Linked DNA regions of Homo sapiens: all the other regions are linked to region 4. Evidence: promoter capture Hi-C in 16 types of primary human blood cells and fetal thymus (Javierre and others, 2016). All regions are on one chromosome and are shown on one strand. Each heading gives the region's core, a stretch centred on a gene start or on the middle of the fragment in contact. The rest is flanking DNA. Distances are from core to core; before and after follow the strand shown.

Region 1 (3,663 bases), core at 41-2,540, 180 kb after region 4:
CTCGGAAACGTCTCTAAAACAAAAGGAGATTATATTTTACCACTGAAGGCTAGAAATATTATTATCTGTAGTCATGGAAAATAAAATGCGGCTTCTAGATGGCACCAGCCTACAAATAAATGTAATTGAGCTTCTTCACTGCCTTTTCTTTGAAGTTCAAAGTTGATTACTCCAAGCGGCTGTTCCTCCATTACTAACAAATGGCTATAGAAATCATTACGTATACAGCCACTGATTTGGGAGAAGAGTCTTTTAATAGCAAGAACAACAAATTTATCTTTCCAGTATTTTTCCCACCCATAAAGCACTGACAAGACCACAGACTCCCTGTCACATAGTTAAAAATGTATGATTCTCCCGTAGTAGTAAAGACCATACTCAGCACTCAGATCTTGGTTTCTAAATATCAGTCTCTACTGAAAGGAATTGGGGCTCCTTGAAGAAGTGGCTGATTCTAGAGTTGGGGCAGGAAAATGTAAGATGAGCCAGGAGCATCTCGTAGTGCCAGACAGTACAGAAATGTTCCAACAAGGAAAATGATGAGAGTTTCTCAAAGGCACAAAGAAGAAGCTGACCTGAAAGAGCTCCCAATCACCAAAGCTGGATCAATTTGAGCAACAAAATATATAAAGCATTATATTGTTACCAAAGTTTAAAGTAAATATACAAATCTATAGTGATATAAATAAATGATTGAATGGATGAATACATGAATAAGTAAATAAGAACAAGGAGACAAATCCCCCTACCTCACCTCTCACCCTGACTGTGGGCTGGACTTGCTCCCAAACGAAAGAATATAGAAAAAGACAAACAGTAATTTTACATCGAAGAAACCTGGCAAACACTACCTTAACCAAGTGATCACAATTTACATTACCAGTGATAAGTCATGTTGAGATTCCATACCCCCAATGTGATGAGAAGGACACTCTACCGCTGTAGTATTCTTTGTGAAAACTCATAACCCCAGTTTAATTATGACCAAAACGTCAGACAAACCCAGATTGAAAGACGCCGCAAACTACCTAGCCAGTACTCCTCAAAACTGTCAAGGTCATGAAAAACAAGGAAACACTGAGAAACTCACAGATGGAGAAGAGACGTCTGTGAGCAAAGATAGCTAAATGTAATGTAGTATCTTAGAGGGGATACTAGAAGAGGAAAAAGGTGTCAATGGAAAACTGAAACAAGCTGGATAAAGCCTGTAATTAATAGTAATGTAGAGACGGAGCAAAGATAACTAAATGTAATGTAGTATCTTAGAAGGGATACTAGAAGAGGAAAAAGGTATCAATGGAAAAACTGAAAAAAGCTGGATAAAGCCTGTAATTAATAGTAATGTAGAGACGGAGCAAAGATAACTAAATGTAATGTAGTATCTTAGAAGGGATACTAGAAGAGGAAAAAGGTATCAATGGAAAAACTGAAAAAAGCTGGATAAAGCCTGTAATTAATAGTAATGTAGCAATCTTGGTTTCTTAGTTTTGATAAATGCACCCCCATGATGTGAAATGATAACGGTAGGGGAAATTGAAACAGGTGAGGGCTTCCTATATGGGAACTCTTTGTATTATCCTTACTATTTTATATAAATCTAGAATTACCCCAAAATGAAAATTTATTTTTTAAACTGTAAAGGTTTAAATGTTTTTCAAAAAAAAATTAGAAAAGTTTAAAAATTTCAGTTTCTTACATTCTCATTGAAAACAATTATTTTTGTCCTTTGTTAATATAAAATCTAAAAGTTCCTGGTTAGTCAAGCAATTGCTTAATAAATCATGGTATATGTACTTCCTGGCTGATGTTTCAAAGTACTAACCACACTTCTGGCACCAATAACTAAAATATTTCTGTCAGTGACTTAAATACCACAACAAAAATAGTACTTGACTGACGTAAACTTAAACATTTACACAGTAGTTGTAAATAAATATGATTTTTGTGTTTGGACATCTTGTATAACATCATAAATGTGAAATTTTATTTTGCTAATTGAAATCTATTCATTCAGCAAAACTTATGGTAGAAACAAGAAAACAGGCAATATGATTTCAACTTCCCTCAATCCTTAGTCAGTCAATAAATATTGGAGTTCTAAACTCATGCTAAATACTATTTTCCAGTGTTATAAGGAATACAAAAATGTTGGTAGGATATTATGTCAATTATAAAGTGCTTTTTAGTTCATTATACTTGTTACTTCTAGTATTACAGAATAGTTCTCAGCATAGGGACTAAGCTGAGAGTTCTATGTCATTAATGTATTCATACAAACATCAATAACAACATCCACTTCAGCTGGACATTATTTTTATCTCCTTTTTACCAGTGTGAAAGAGGCTAAGTACTTGACCAGAGTCACCCAACTAGCAAGAGGTGAAGTCAAGATTTCATCCAGATGTGTGGGATTCTGCAGATCAGGTTCTTGACTGCCATTTTATACCCTTGCTCCTCCTGGGACAAATGAAGGCAGCTGAAAGATGACAGCACGGTCACACGGCAAGGAGACAAAGGACCCATGTGCCGCCTTGACAGCTCTATGTCTTTATGGTTCCTTGTGTCTATGTCTACTCTGGCCCTTACCACATTGACTTTTTTAAAGTCTTTAAGAGAGATGCACTTTATTCACCTTTTTATTCTTCTAAGGCCATGGACATTGTCTAAAATATAGTTGATGTTCAATACAAACCCTAGTTAGAAAATAAATTATTACAGATATATAGAAAAACATTATATTAGAAAAATACAGACCACTCTTAATCCATCCTATGTCTATTATCTATTCACAGATATCTTGATGTGATGGTGATGGTCACGATAACTGCCTTCCATCTTAGTGCATGCTCATCTCTCAGTCCTAGAATGATATTCTTTCAGCTTGGATGTTACTTCCTCAGGGAAGCCTCTTATGCATCCCCAGAACTGGGTCAGATTTCCCTCTTAGTGGACTCTCAGAAATTACATACAATTCACTTCTATGTAATTTCCTGTTGACTTGCTGTCTTCTCCACCAGAATGAAAGCTTTCCAAGTCTTGATTAACACTGTACTTCCAGCACCTGGCACCATACCTGAAGCACCATGGTGTTTCTTTTTTTTTGCCATTAACATTTTATATATATATATATATATATATATATATATATATATATATATACACATACATATACACAAGATAATAGCATAAAAAAGTTTTAAAGAGTTATACATACCAAAATATTATACGTACCAAAAAACGTCACTACGGATTTTTCCATTTTTTTCTTAATTTTTTTTTTAAGTTCTGGGATACATGAGCAGAGTGTGCAGGTTTGTTATGGGTAGGGAGAGCATTAGGTGTTTCTCAAAACACCAAACAGCATGTTGCCCAGTGTGAAAGAATCCAAATGGCAAAAATCAAAATTTAATAGAATTATTTAAATACCCACTCTGACTTCCTGACGTGAATCGCTTCTCAAGGCTAAAGCCATCATATTTTCAGAACTCTCTAGCCTCTTGTCTTTCAAGGAAATCACAACTTCTTCTCTCTGCCACCAGATACCAGGCATATGTATTTCAATCAATATATATTTGCCAAGACATTCCTGTAGCAAATTTTGGATTCTAGGACATTAAGTAAAAATGTTATGGCCTATTATCTAGGAAGAGCATGATGGGGCTA
Region 2 (3,685 bases), core at 416-2,915, 220 kb after region 4:
ATCTGTATTTAAGTTAAAAGTGAATATAAACACTCAAACTGTACACAAAAATCAATTGCAATGCTCTTATAAATATAAAATAAATGGTAAAAAATAAAGTTTCTAGAAGATAACCTGGGAGAGTATCTTTATGATCTTGGAGTAGACTAACTTTCTTAGAAGGGATGCAAAAATCTCTAACCACAAAGGAGAAGACTGATAAACTGGACTATGTCAAAGTTAGAATGGTTGTTCATCAAAAGGCACTATCAATGAGCAAAGAAGCAAGCCACAGATTGAAGGAAGACATTTGCAATACATATATCCAACAAAAGGTTTATATTCAGGGTTTAAAATAACTACAAAACAGGAAAAGAAAGACTGAAAGTTAAGAGAAAAATGAGGAAATATTTGAACAGAGATTGCACATAAAAAGGATATCTACATCACCAATTAGACTATGAAAAAATGCTCATTCTCAAATTCACCAGAGACATACAAATTAAAACCACATTGAGATAATTCTAGCAGAACGGCCAGATTTTACTAGATGACAATACCAATATCAGCAAGAATTTTAGAACAATGATAACTCTCATACATTGGTTGGTGGGTGTGGTGGGAATTGGCACAACCACTTTGGAAAATAATTTGGTAATACTTCCTAAACTGAATATATGCATACCTTATGAGCCAGGACTTCCACTCCCAGATATATACCCAACAGAATTATGTGCGCATATGCCCCAATAAATGTATACAAGAATGTTCATAGCAGCACTATTTGTTTTAGCACCAAAAGTAGGTAAAGATTCTGTGTTCCCTTTGAAGTTCTCCTCTTAATCTCTATTCACCCCTGTAACCCCTGTATGGTTTTCTTGCCTCAGGGTGCAGTGGGTCAGATGTGACATAATATACCTAAGGTGATGTGCATTTGTAGATATAAAATTAAATGCCCCCTTAGGAAGACCAAGGTATGGGCCCAGAGAGAAAGGGTGAGAAAATATTTGAAAGAAAGAAACTGGCACTCCTCGTGGCAGCTAATGTCTTAGGAACCTCTGTTGACCAGTATACCAGGATGGAAACTTGACTTTTAGAAAATCATAAGAGCTATACATTCACCTGGTAATTTTTTAAAAAATCAAACGGTACAGAAATACATAAAATAAATTGTGTTCTTCCCACCTATTGCTCCTCAAACATAATCAATATTTTTGTGTGTACTTTCCAGGAAAAGAAGAAAGTATACTTAAAAGAGTTGATGTACACATATATCCTATTTTTTATATTTACCCAATGGGATAATACTACAAAACCAATCTATATCTCACTTTTATTCTCTTCACATCAAACAAGGTGGTCTTCCCTTCTTGGCATGTTCAGATTTACCTTATTCTTTAATGATTGCTTGTCACCATACGGATGAATCAGAATATTCTTAAACAGTCCCCATATCATGGTTTTTTGTTTTGTTTCCAGTGTTTAGGCAATAATGAATGCTACAATAAACGTTCTTATAGTACTCTCTTCAGATACTTCCTTCAGGGTAATTTCCCAATAGCAAAAATGTAGGGTCAAGGGTATTTGATTTTTTAAAACCTTAACTTTTTTTTTTCTTTGATCATCGGGTAGGAAACTGTGATTAGCAGCTGAAGACGGGTACTCCCACTTCCTTTTTTCAATTCACTAATGCATTCTGCTCTTTTTGAGAGCACAGCTTCTCAGATGTGCTCCTTGGAGCTGGTGTGCAGTGTCCTGACTGTAAGATCAAGTCCAAACCTGTTTTGGAATTGAGGAAACTTCTCTTTTGATCTCAGCCCTTGGTGGTCCAGGTCTTCATGCTGCTGTGGGTGATATTACTGGTCCTGGGTGAGTAAAAGGGCTCACCATGGGCCCTGGGTGGGATCGGGACAGCTTCTCTCTCCACCGCAGGCCTGGTCCTTTCTTGGGGCTCAGCCCCTGCTGAGAGACTCTCTCCTACATTAGGAGACTGTATTTTTGAACTTTACTCTGTAGCTCAGGGCTTTCTCTTGAGGCTGAAGAAAATGGCCACAGCTGGAAGGAATTTTCAATCTTACAGAGTAGGAAACCACAATAACCACAACAATTAAAATTTCATTTATTTTTTTCTTTAAAAAGTACTTCTTAAAGTCCAGAGAATGTTTCATGTTTGTTTGTTCATATTGTCTTACTCATAGAAGAGCCCACTCTCCTCTCTGCAGAGGAGATGTATTTATTCCTTGTATGACAAGGCCAGATCCTGGTCCCCAGCATAAGAGGCAAGGTTTCTAACGGGAAAGACAGGTCTTTCTCTTGTACATAATTGCAAACCACTGCAGCAATTGGCTGATTAAGAACATGGGGTGGAGGAGGTCGCAGAGGCGTAGGTGGACAAAGCAAGGATAAATCTAAAGCATATGACTTTCTCTTTGTCCCTGTGGGTGTACGTAAGTCTCTATCAACTCATATGTGCGAACTGGTTGATTTTTACTAAAGGTTAAATATTATAATTAAATATGTTTATTTATTTGTTCAGCAAATGTGTTTAGTAATATCTATGCACAGGTGCTGAGCAATTAGAGTCCATAGGAGACACTACGTCTATGTTCTGGAAAGTCATGACATAGAAGGGCTCCCAGCAAGGCCAATGTACTTTCAAGCAGCTATGCAACAAGCTCCCAGTTAAATAATTGTCCAGGCAAAGTTACCAATGAATGCTGTAGGCAGATAATAAACTGTATTCAAAATAGCTAGTAAAGACTTCATGAAACTTAGAGGTGAGTAGGAGCTAGAGGAGCAGAAATGGAGCAGGCGTGATATAAGAAAAGAGGACCTCACAGTTGGAAGGTGCATGGACTATAATTCCTGAAGTAGGAATACATCTCAGTGTGGCCCCACACAATGTGGGTAATGGCCAGGTCCTGAGCATGAGAGGGCAAAGTTTATAACATGGGCTCTGGGGTCAAACAGGATCTAGGTTCAAACTTCATCTTGCCACCTACTGGCTACCAGATTCCTGGTCTACAAAATGCAGTTAATCCTAGTGCTTACCTCACAGGATTATTGACATGGTTATATGAAATAACCTACGTAAATGCAGACCATATAGAAACCACTCACAAAAATATTAGCTTCATTTAAAACAATGCAAAGATGAAGGAAGCCAAAATATTCAGGTGAATGGTGAATAATTTGTTGTTCTCAGTAAAACACTTAAGTTTGGATAAGTCTCCAATAGCCTCATGTGGACAGGGATGATTTGTCTCTCACACACTCCTGGATTTCTATTGCCTTGCTCTGGAGTATGATTGGCATTCCAAAAATCTGTTGAATAAATAAATCAACCCATATGCAGAATACCTACTCAATTGATAAACCTGCCAGTTTTGTGTCCTCTCTCTCTTCATTACCCATTTCTCAAATCTCTATCCTTCTATTCCTATATTATTAACCTAGTTCTTTAATTAATTCATTATACAACACAAATATATTTAGTGAACATTAAAGGAATATCTTTTATATGCCATTCACCGTTATAGGTCCTGGAGGATATATGGTGAACATAAGGAAAGTCCTAGGTCTCATAGAGCTTGCATTATAGAGAAGGGAAAATAAACAAGCAGATAATGAAGATAATTTGGATAAATACTCTGACAAAAATTACACATTACCATCTCTTGGGCTGAGCATCAGGTCTAAATAATCT
Region 3 (3,576 bases), core at 263-2,762, 160 kb after region 4:
CGTATTAAACAATTATTTTGTATGGTGTCATTTTAGTTCCTTTCTTATACTGTATATTTTGTAGTTATTTTCTAAGTGGTTTTCCTGGGGATTACAATTGACATATTAATTTATATGTACCTGAATTGTATTAATATCAGCTTAATATAAACATTAATAATATAATATATAATATTTACATAACAGAATTCATTTAACTGTCCTGAATTTAAGGTCAACATATTAAAATACATGATATATTACAACCAAATATAAAACATAACTGAAGAAGAAAAGATACAATGCACAAAACTAAATTTTTTTGAATAAATGTAAAAAGGGTTATTCTTAACTGGAGACTGTCTCTCCCTCTCTCCGTTGAACTTCTCAAAAGATTGTTAATCATTTTATCACACTCACATATTTTAGGATAGAGAGGTAGTCAAGCCTTCTTTACTCTTCTCTGTTGTATCCAGTCACAGTTTCTCCACAAAATGTTTGATACCCAGTCCTTTGAGGATATGTCTGACTATATCACACTCTACACCTCCTTATTGCAGTTATCTATCTACCAACCCCCTGGTCACTTCTCACCAAAAACAAACTCAGACATTTTCTCTAGCCAAATTCCTGTACTCACCCTGCATGACATCAGCACCCATGACTGCATCAACTAGGATACTTGGCTGCAAATAACCAGCTCTGATTCAGGGTCAGGAAGTCACCACCAGCACTGCTGGCTGCAGAGCCATGCAGTACCTTCTAAATGCACATTGATTCAAGAAAAATCAAAGACCAACACCTTTTCTCCCGACACCCACAGATATAGAGAGACACATGTGGGCCTCTGCTATGGCAGAAAATCCAGTGACACCATCGCTGTCCTTAACACAGAAGGGCAGATAAAGCAAAAGGGTGACTTCTGCCTCACTTCCAACCTCCAATCCCACCTCTGACAATGAAGTTTAAATCACATTCAGAGCCCCAGCTGCCGCAGAGCCTGGTAAATGTGGGGTTCGCTTTACTGCCTCCAGGGTAGAGGAACTCCATTGAGTACCTGCTCACTATATCTAGCACACCTCTTTTACTACCCTGCTAAAACCTCACAGATAAGCACATCAAACATTCCAGCCAGGCTCCTAAATACCTCTGTTTCACTACCACCAGGTCTTACCTACTTAGCAAATCATGAACCTTGTATTGATCCAACCTCTGCACAACACTCACACTGCCTAACAGAACACCAGTCTTCTGGATGACCTATCACAAATTCACGATACCTAACCAGAACAAAATGTTAACACCATTCAACAATCAGTTAAGTGCATGACAGCTAAAGATAATATAAACTAATAATAGCTATCACATATTGAGTGCTTCCTATGCGCCATGACTCTTCTAATCATTCTGCATGTTTTAACTCATCTAATCCTCATAAGCACTCTGTGAGATAGATGTCACTATCCCCATTTACAAATTATGAAGGAAGAGACATAGAAAGACTAAGTCATTTCTCAAGTCCTCACAACTAGGAAGTATCAGAACCAGGATTTAAATCCAGGTAGTTTGAATCCAGAGCCCACATTTTCATCTTTCTGCTGACTGCCTCTCACATTCTCTCAAACTTCCATCTGCTATGGACTGACTGAAATGCATTATCCTCCCCTCCCAAAATTCATATATTGGATCCTAAAGCCCAGTGTGATGGTGTTTGGAGATCAGACCTTTGGGAAGTAATTAGATTAGATGAGATCATGAGGGTGGAGTCTTTGTGATGGGATTAGTGGTCTCTAATAAGACGAATCTCTCTCTCTCTCTCTCTCTCTCCCCCCCACCCACCCCCAGCCCACCCCCATCACTCTCTAGCCACCATATGAGCACACAGTAAGAAGGCAGCCATCTGCAAGCCAGAGAGACCTCACCAGAACCCAACCATGCTGGCTCCCTGATCTTGGATGTCCAACCCCCAGTATTGTGAAAAAATAAATTTCTGTTGTTTAACCTATTCAGTCTATGGTGTTCTGTCATGGCAGCCTGAGCAGACTAAGACACCAACCTACCTTATCACTCATGACAAATGACAGAACCTCCCATTTTTCAGAGAAAAATGAACAGTAGAAAGTAATGTCTTCAAGTTCCTACCAGCACACTTCCCACTGACCCGCCTTTATATTCATCTGTCCTAACTCTCTCCTGTCCCCACACAAAGCAATGTGCTCCTGTTATCTAAAGTGAGTGCCTTCTCCTGTGGTTCAAGTCCCTTTTCCTCCCACTGTTTCAGGAACACTGATCTCTGATGCAGCTCCCCTTTCTCTGGTGTGTTCCATGGACCCTGCTCACTCCTTTGCTACAGCCCTTAAACATTCTCAGGACTCTCCCCTCTCAGCATCCCCTTAACCTCACCCTGCAACTATCTCCTGTTTCTTCATCTTCCATGTCACAGCTAGACTTCTACACTTGCTCCAAGACACTGAATCCTCGGACTTCCTCCACCAGCAAGTACCCCTGAGAACTCCACCAGGTGACCAGGAACCTCCCAGCATTTGGCACTGTTGACCTCTTTCTCTTTCTCTTTCTGAGAACTCTCTTCCTTGGTTTCCCTGATATCACTCTCTCCTGGATCCTGGCTCCTTTGCTGCTTCCTCTTTCTGCACCTCCATGCTCCCCTCAAGCACTGGGTCTTGTCATGAGCCGATTTTCATCTCATATTTTGTGTTCTCACTAGGACATCTACTTCCCTACTTTCAATGTTCATTCCCATGCTGCTAATGCCCACGTCTGTATCTCCACCCCCTACCCTCTGCTCAGCATCAGACCCTGCATTCAGCTCTCTACTAGACGTCTCCACTGGCACCTCACGCTCAGTGTGTTCACTGCTTTATCTTTACCTTCTAGCCTATTTCTGTGTTCTCATTCTCAGCAAATGGCCCCATCCAGGAACCTGGGTATTATCCTTGGCTCCTTCCTCTCCTGACCCCCTGGGGCAATTGATCAAGGACCTAGAATGTGTCAGATCCATTGCTAAGCACCTCACATGCAAAGGTTTCATTTTACTGTCACAATCTTAACAGAGAGGAAAGAAATAATTAAACTTTGGCTGTTTCTAGCACCTATTGGTGAGGACATTGTAGCAGAGCTCCCTAAGCCATCACACACCATCTCAGCTTCTCCACATTCTGTGGCATCTTCTTCCTCACCTCTGTCCCTAGACCCAGACCTGCTCATGGGCCCTTTTGATGTTCTTCACTTGTCCCTCATCACACTTTTTTGCAACATGGCAGGTTCTTTGTTTTATTATATGGAACTTGGAGAAAAGAAAGATGCATTATTTGTTACAGGAAATGAAAGCAGAAGCTATCATTGTGTGTGTTATCTGTCAAAAAACTGGTATTCATCTCATGGGAAAGCTTAGAATAGTTTCAGGTGATTTAAACTGGTCCTACAAAAAGGTATTAAAAATTATCCTCTTCTCTCACCTGTCCCCACCACCACCTCTATTCCTCATGCAAACAAGACAACCTGCTATATGCTCAATTTTTAATGCAAACAAACAAACAAAAAAACTTGTCTCTTTTGTCTCTTCTCTTCAATCTCCCC
Region 4 (3,773 bases), core at 585-3,084:
TTCTTTTCTTTTTTTTTTTTGAGACGGAGTCTTGCTCTGTCACCCAAGCTGGAGTGCAGTGGCACGATCTCGGCTCACTGCAAGCTCTGCCTCCCGGGTTTGTACCATTCTCCTGCCTCAGCCTCCCAAACAGCTGGGACTACAGGCACCTGCCACCACGCCCGGCTAATTTTTTGTATTTTTAGTTGAGATGGGGTTTCACCGTGTTAGCCAGGATGGTCTTGATCTCCTGACCTCGTGATCCGCCCGCCTCAGCCTCCCAAAGTGCTGAGATTACAGGCGTGAGCCACCGCACCCAGCCCACTTTTTTCTTAATCATATATCCTAGACATCTTATCTTGCTATTAAATATTATTCCACAGAATTATTTTAATGGCTGTTTGGTTTTCCACAGCATTTGACACATAACTTATTTTTAACACACATCTCTCCTTGTGATATATTTTTAGTATTTTCTTTTTACATTATTATAAGCAAGGCTTTAATGACCATCACATATAAATATTAGCCTTTCTCAAAGTAAAACTATGATAATAGTGAGAATAAAATGTTAAGTATCCAATTGTTAAAAATTCAATGTTAAGTATTCAGGTAAATGTTAAGTACCTGAACAGGTAACATTGAGTCTATGAATATTTTCAGTCAGTCCCTCATTTATAAGCACCTGTGATTTTTTGGTTTAGAGTTTCATCCTGCATAAGGTTCACTGATGAGACAACATCTACTGGGACTACATCTAATCAAAGTGAGCATGATAATAGGTGTTCACATAACACGCGCTTTGCTTTGTGTGAGATAACTGTATTAGGATCAGCCTGGGGTACAAAAAGCAATGCAGATTAGAAATAGGCAATGTTGTGATTACAGATTAGAAAGATGGCAATGTTTTCAGCAATATAGTGCAAGTGTTTTGAAGTTTAGTAAAATCTCATTCTAGAAAGTCATCGAATGACTACGAAAAATTTTACTTAAGAAATATGAGCTATTGAAACAATGGCCTTATTATTTTATGAACCTTGAGAAGCAATATATCAAGATAATAGGGCACAATGTTTAAGAGCCAGACTGTGACACTGGGCTGCCTGGGTTTGAATCCCAGATCTGTTACTACTAGAAATTGATTAAGCTGATCTTGGTCATTTTACTGGCTGCTATCATCTGAATGTTTGTGTCCTGGCAAAATTCTTATGTTGATACTTAATCCTCAATGCAATAGTAATAAAAGGTACCCACCTTTTATTACATGACCTTTTAGGGGTCATGAGTGTGGAACTCTTATGAAAAGGATTAGTCTCCTTGTAAAAGAGGCTTGAGGGAGCTTGTTTGCTCCTTCCATCATGTGAAGACACATAGAGGACACCATCTATGAGAAACAGGCCCTCATCAGACACTGAATCTACTGGTGCCTTGATCTTAAACTTCCCAGCCTCTTGAACTATGAGTGATAAATTTATGTTGTTTATAAATTTCTCAGTCTAAGGTATTCTTTATAGCAGCCCCAATGGACTAAGACACTTACCTTTACTAGTGCCTCAATTTCCTTATTCATGTGAAAGGGGATAGTGCCAATTCAGAAACTTGCTGAAGGTAATAAATAACTCTGTAAGCATGAGGCACTTAGAACTGTGTCTGACTCATTGCAACCCATATGTAAATGCTAGGTATCATAATGAGGGTCAAGTTACAAAATTTCTCTGGCATTGAGAGGATCAGCTATAATTGTTTTAGCCCTTCCAGGACAAAGATAATGGTTAAACATAGTGGCACTATTCTACTTCCTTTTTTGCTAATTATACAAAACCTATTCTGAAAACCACATTTCATCGCCTGCTCAGAGTCTCCAGTTGGTGACCAAGAGTACATCTCTTTTCAAATAGCTGGATTAGGTCCTCATGCTGCTGTGGTCATTGCTGGTCATCTTTGGTGAGTTCAATAATTTGACTGAGAAGTGAGGTGGCAGCTGAATGAGGTCTACTGCTCCCAAAAGGTTGGAGGTTTTATTGGAGCCCAGGGACTGGTGGGGATGCTCAGGTCCTGCCTGCAGCTTGGGCTTCAAAGGCAGATGCAAAGAAGTAGGCTGAGGACAGTGAATTTGCAGCACATCCATTAAGCATTAAGCACAATGCTTAATGTTCAAGGTGGACCACTTTTCCATTTGCTGGTCATGAATTGCTATTTTGATATCTTAGATCTCATTGAGTAATATAATGTTCTCATAGTAAAATGTTCATAATATTAGCATTTAGCAATGCCCTTCTCCTCCATGAACACCGATTATTCAATTGTTATCTATAAGATTTGGGTTCAGCAGATGCATTGAGACCCTTTGCTAATATTCCTCTGTTTAATCGTGGACAATGAGGGAGATGACAGCTGCTGCTAGAAAATAAGATTCCTGGGTGAGTGCAGTGGCTCATACCTGTAATCCTAGCACTTTGGGAGTCCAAGGCTGGTGGATCACTTGAGGTCAGAGTTCGAGACCACCCCGGCCAACATGGTGAAACCTCATCTCTACTAAAAATACAAAAATTAGCCAGGCGTGGTGGTGGGCACCTGTAATTCCAGCTACTCGGGAAGCTGAGGCAGGAGAATTGCTTGAACCCGGGAGGTGGAGGTTGTGGTGAGCCAAGATCGCACCATTGTACTCCAGCCTGGGTGAGAGAGTAAATAAGATCCCTTTCTCTATGCTGTGTAGGCACTAAATAAATATTTGTTATTGGAATACAAAGGGCTCTAACGTGAAATATGGCCATAGGAAAGAGACTGATTTGTTGATTTCTTGGAACTCTCACAATGTATGTTTCCTGATGAGCCCTTTGTGATCGTGTTGTCATGTCTATCTACCACTTGAAAAGTCAGAGTGTGAGATAGAGTGGTGGGGATGGTGGAAGGAAAATGAAATCAAGGAGAGTCACTAAATATCCAACATGGGTATTCTCGACAATCCCTTTAGTCAAGCATTGGGTTTGCAACTTGCCTTTTGACTACAATGAATGACAGTTAGATGTGTGCTCGAGGGAGATTGAATTGTTAGTAATAAGAGATTAGGGAAATAGAAAAGAAAGGGAAAATGGAAAGAAGTTTTTGAGCAATTTACCAGAGTAATATAAATTTATAAATTATGAGGGCAAATGCTGTGTGCTAATCTCTGGCTTTTGATCTCCTCACAGATGCAGTCACTGAACAGGCAGGTGAGTCCTCCTTGTCTTTGTTGTTCTTGGTCTCTGGCATATCAGTCACCCCACTACCCCAGGATTCTATAGAGGTGGCTCTGGAAAGCCTGTGAAGATGTCCTAATATTACTGCCCTCTAGGCTGACATGTTCTGAGGTCACGCAGCCTGTTTCCAACACCACTTGCATGTCTGGGTGACCAGGTACCACCTAGCCTTCTCAAGACCCCACATGCTTGCCTCTTCCTTAAAAGCCTGGCTTTAAGAAGGGCAATAACATGCAGATTGAAGAAAAGAACAATTTGGAGAGAATTGTTTTCCTGCCCATAGGACTGTAATGCCTCTTTATTGTCTGGCTGAATGCTGAATGTTTTTACAGCTCTGAAAACAGCTATTTATAGAGGAATGTGTCAGAACTACAAACTTCTGCAGGGTCAGAATAAACATGTGTCCTCATTGCTTCTCTAGCTCTAGCTCAGGAATCAGCAAGCTTTTCCTGTAAAAGGCAAGAGAGTAAATAGGCTAAGCTTTTCAGGTGTGTGCCGTAACTACTCAATGCCATTGCTGTGGTAGCAGGAAAACAACCATAGACCATATGTAAA
Region 5 (3,865 bases), core at 966-3,465, 170 kb before region 4:
TAGGGAAAACAGAGCACTCTTGTCTCAGCAGCTGAAAATAAGCAAAATTAATATTTCAGTATATTTCCTACCAGTCTATTTACAGTACAAATTTTAATTTAATTTAATTGTGCTCATGTGGTAAACATAAAATTGTACATGTTGATATATATGAATACACTAGCTAGTCAAGCATATTAGAGAAAACACCTATAAATACAGAACAAAATACAAAGAAGGAAAAAGTAGCATTTTAGAATTCCACACCAAGAAACAACCTAGTTACATTTTAGTATATTTTCATAAAACCTCAAAAATTACCTGTTTGCATAATCTCACACTATGTGTCTTGAATTTTAATCATAGTTAACAAAGGAACACTCGTAAAATTTAGTTGGCAGATTTTACGTAAATGTTTTAGTGACATGCATTTTCCACCTGGTGGTTTATTAGTCTTGTTTAATTAAAAAATGATTCAGGCTATACTGATTGGCTTTGAAGATGTAGAAAGTCATTAATAATATTCTTTAGTAATGAAAATAGTCATTATGCTCTTTTGTGCACTTCTGCTTTGAGAAATGGAAGAAAGGGGGTGAAAACAAAGATTTTTAGTTTAATAACTATCTTGGCTCGGCATCCCAACCATACAAATTGTTTGGCCATGCTAATCAAAGTTGGAACAGACCCAGTTAGTGTTTTATGTAGTCTTTTATCAAATTGGCAAGAGATTATCTGTAAACTGTTTTTTTTTTTTTTTTTCGTTGGGAGGGGGAAGCACAATCAAAATAGAATCTACAGGAAAGCAGAAGACAATCTTGGGAACTATACAGGGCCGGACTTTGACCTCAGGCTGGCAAAGCTACTTGATAGCACATTGTTCCATTGTTTCTCTTGGTTTTGAGTCTAATTTTAGTAAGGGAAGATCCATCAGTCTTTCATTCCATGACATCTCCATTCTCTACTTTTAAACTTTGCTTTCTCTCTTATTGACTGGAGAATATGTTCAAGTGATTTGTTTCAAGATTAGCCGATGCATGACAGGTGTATGTTCTGAACCCTTTCATTTCTGATGTTTGCTTTTTTCCTTCTTTCCCACATAAAGGGAGCAATTTGGTTGGGCACACATTCTTGGGGGATAACTCTTTTTCCACAGTACTCTAGATCCTTTCCATTGAAAACTAAGTGTAGAGAAATCTGAAGTCAGCCTTCAAGAGAGTTCTTTTGGTGAAAAGATTGATGATGGTGGTGGGTGGGCCTCACTGTCACTTCTCAGAAGGCAGCTCCCACACAGTAGAAGTGGATGTCCAGGTCTCTGGTATAGATTCAGCATTTTGTAACTGGGTGAGGGGAGTGTGATATGGAGATGGGAAAGTGACCTTTTCTATTTACTTTCAGATAAGCCACCTGCTCTGTTTTTTCCAACATACCCAAGGTGTCCCTCTCTTCTGTTCTTTTTTTCTTTTTTCAGTTCAATTCTAATGACCTTAAAGTTCATGGAAATTCCTTTTGCCTCTGACAATAGTTGATTTTTAAAAGTCCTCATTTTTAGTGTCATTATTATGTTTGTCTTTTCCTGGAACTTTATAGATATTTCATGTGAAGCTTTAAGAGACAAGGCTAGGAGTGTCTAGCCAGATTTTATTTTAATTCATAAGTTTAGCTATGACATTCAATAGGTTTAATCAACCTTCCATAAAGCTATCATTTGGTTTCAGAAGGAAGGCTCTCAGAGCTACAAAGAGAAATGAGTTTTGAGCCATGTAAGGGTGGGGGCAAGCACATGTGGTGGTTCCTAGATCCAGAGTTGCTAGACTGTTCTATCTCACTTTTTTTTCTATTGTATTCCATCTCACTGGATGGTCTGTTAGGAAGAAACATAAATAGCACCTCAGCTGACAGGGTGATTTCTCTCTGTCATTATCCTTAAGCAGAAGATGGTTCTATGTGGCTCACAGGTTCAGCACACAAACCATGTCAGTAATGGTGTGAGTGCAACAGCATTAAAGCCACAATGGAAAGAGGGCTTGTATCAGTTCAGGTCCTCTGGGAAGCAGTTACTAAAGACGGTCAAGAGATTGTAAGGTCAAGAGATTTTGAAAGATGGGAGAGAGGGAACAAAAGGAGTCAGGGAAAGTCTTCAGATAGTGATATGGGTCTGATGCCTGTAAAATGAGACGGGGAGGCAAGAGGGTTGGGAAAGAAGAGACTTTGACCCTGATGCAGCTCTGAGGAAGTCTCATCCAGCCCAGTGGGAAGCTCCAGGGAGTTTGCCAGTAGAGGAGTCTATGTTAGGAGAATGGCCATGTGGAGCAGAAAGTACCCCTGCTGTCCCGCCGTGCTCAGTGGCCGAGGCTGCCTGGGGAGACTTTAGCTTTGGTTCAAACATTGCAGCAGATCCTGAAGGTGATGTAGCTGGAGGCTGATAGCTAAGTACACTCCTGAAGCAGGGTCTTCCTTGAAGGGAGATCTGACTGGTGCACCATTATGGCTGCCACAAGGCCCCTTCCACACTCTCCAGGAGGGACCAGGAGTGTTACCCGTCCTAAGCAGATGATGCACAAGGCAACTTAGCTCCTGTGGCTGGATGAAAACTGAGCAGGTCCATTCACAGGAGAGCCCGGCAACTGCTCTTTGGCAAAGCTGAATGGGCAACCCTGAGCAGATTGTCTCCAGGGGATGTGACCTTCAGCTTCAAGTGATTTTGAATGTGTGCTTGAATGGGCCCCCAGAACAGCACAGAGCCCAGCCTAAGGGTCAACTTATTTTTGAGCAAACATTTCAAATCTCCATCCACAATTATTGAATAGCTACAATGAGGCAGATCTTGTCCTAGTTACAGGTGATATAGGAGAGGACAAGAGGAAGCTTCTGTCCTTGGTTTGCCTATAGTCTAGTGATGGAGAAATAATATTAAAAACTAAGAATGGTGATAAGCACAACTAGCATTTGTGAACAATATTAGGGATCAGATAGGAAAGGGAAGTTGAGAGAACTTCATCTGTTCCCTCTTTGGAAATAAAGTATGAAAAGAATGAGTCTTGGATCTTGAAAGGTCCCAGAGCAGAGTGGTCCAGGATGTAGCCTCTGGTCGGTCCCACTGACTTCCATTAGAGTGGAAGTTCGGCATGGGGCGTCATGATGGGCATAGGGAGCAGAACAGACAGGCATCTGGGTCTCTCTCTACTCCACCCTGGTTGGGGATGGAGAAGAATGGGGTGAAATCAGTAGAGAGATTTAGAAAACACATCAGGTCTCCTTCCACTGACCTCTTTCTTGGCTTCTGCCTCATGGAGCTCTTCCCTTTTCCTTCCCTCAGTCCTCTAACATGGATGATCGGGGCTGGACCTGTCTAGGTATGGAAACATGGTCTCCTGTCTACAAGTCATTGACTAGTCCTGCTGTATCTGGACCACGGTTGCTGGGGAGACCCTTCCTTCCTTCCTTCCTTCCCTCCTTCCCTCCCTCCCTACCTCCCTCCCTCTGTTTCCCCTCCTCTCCCCTCCCCTTCTCTTTCTTTTTTTGATGGATTTTTGCTCTTGTTGCCCAGGCTGGAGTGCAATGGTGCGATCTTGGCTTACTGCAACCTCCGCCTCCTAGATTCAAGTGATTCTCCTGCCTCAGCCTCCCAAGTAGCTGGGATTACACTGGGATTACAGGCATGCACCACCACACCCAGCTAATTTTTTGTATTTAGTAGAGAAGGGGTGTCACCATGTCGGTCAGTCTGGTCTTGAATGCCTGACCTCAGGTAATCTACCTGCCTTGGCCTCCCAAAGTGCTGGGATTACAGGCGTAAGCCACTGCACCCAGCTGCTATATTTTCCAATTCTTCTCTCCTTTCACCATTAATTCCTTTTTTATAGCATTTTAAAAATTATTAGGACAG

What was found. Contacts are between HindIII fragments. The CHiCAGO score rates a contact against its expected background, and 5 or more counts as called.
Region 1: a contact is called between a fragment that was not itself captured here and the fragment with the promoter of FCRL2 in region 4, in 1 of 17 cell types (total B cells). The highest score is 7.1, in total B cells.
Region 2: the fragment with the promoter of FCRL5 here is called in contact with the fragment with the promoter of FCRL2 in region 4 in 1 of 17 cell types (total B cells); the score reaches 5.6 in total B cells.
Region 3: a fragment that was not itself captured here is called in contact with the fragment with the promoter of FCRL2 in region 4 in 1 of 17 cell types (total B cells); the score reaches 6.1 in total B cells.
Region 5: a contact is called between a fragment that was not itself captured here and the fragment with the promoter of FCRL2 in region 4, in 1 of 17 cell types (naive B cells). The highest score is 5.4, in naive B cells.

Annotation. Positions count from the first base shown.
Region 1 is chr1:157,598,590-157,602,252 of GRCh38, reverse strand. No RefSeq gene overlaps it. Among named protein-coding and RNA genes, the nearest start is that of FCRL4, 2.3 kb to the right of the region's middle. The HindIII fragment of the contact is 3,474 bases long and covers 1-3,027 here.
Region 2 is chr1:157,550,495-157,554,179 of GRCh38, reverse strand. It overlaps FCRL5 (Fc receptor like 5), which reads left to right and starts at 1,665. Exons shown (of 17, transcript NM_031281.3): 1 at 1,665-1,848. The coding sequence starts at 1,818. The HindIII fragment of the contact is 25,493 bases long and covers 1-3,685 here.
Region 3 is chr1:157,615,969-157,619,544 of GRCh38, reverse strand. No RefSeq gene overlaps it. Among named protein-coding and RNA genes, the nearest start is that of FCRL4, 20 kb to the right of the region's middle. The HindIII fragment of the contact is 3,753 bases long and covers 1-3,388 here.
Region 4 is chr1:157,775,193-157,778,965 of GRCh38, reverse strand. It overlaps FCRL2 (Fc receptor like 2), which reads left to right and starts at 1,834. Exons shown (of 12, transcript NM_030764.4): 1 at 1,834-1,923; 2 at 3,171-3,191. The coding sequence starts at 1,893. The HindIII fragment of the contact is 5,936 bases long and covers 1-3,663 here.
Region 5 is chr1:157,949,754-157,953,618 of GRCh38, reverse strand. No RefSeq gene overlaps it. Among named protein-coding and RNA genes, the nearest start is that of KIRREL1, 42 kb to the left of the region's middle. The HindIII fragment of the contact is 1,263 bases long and covers 1,584-2,846 here.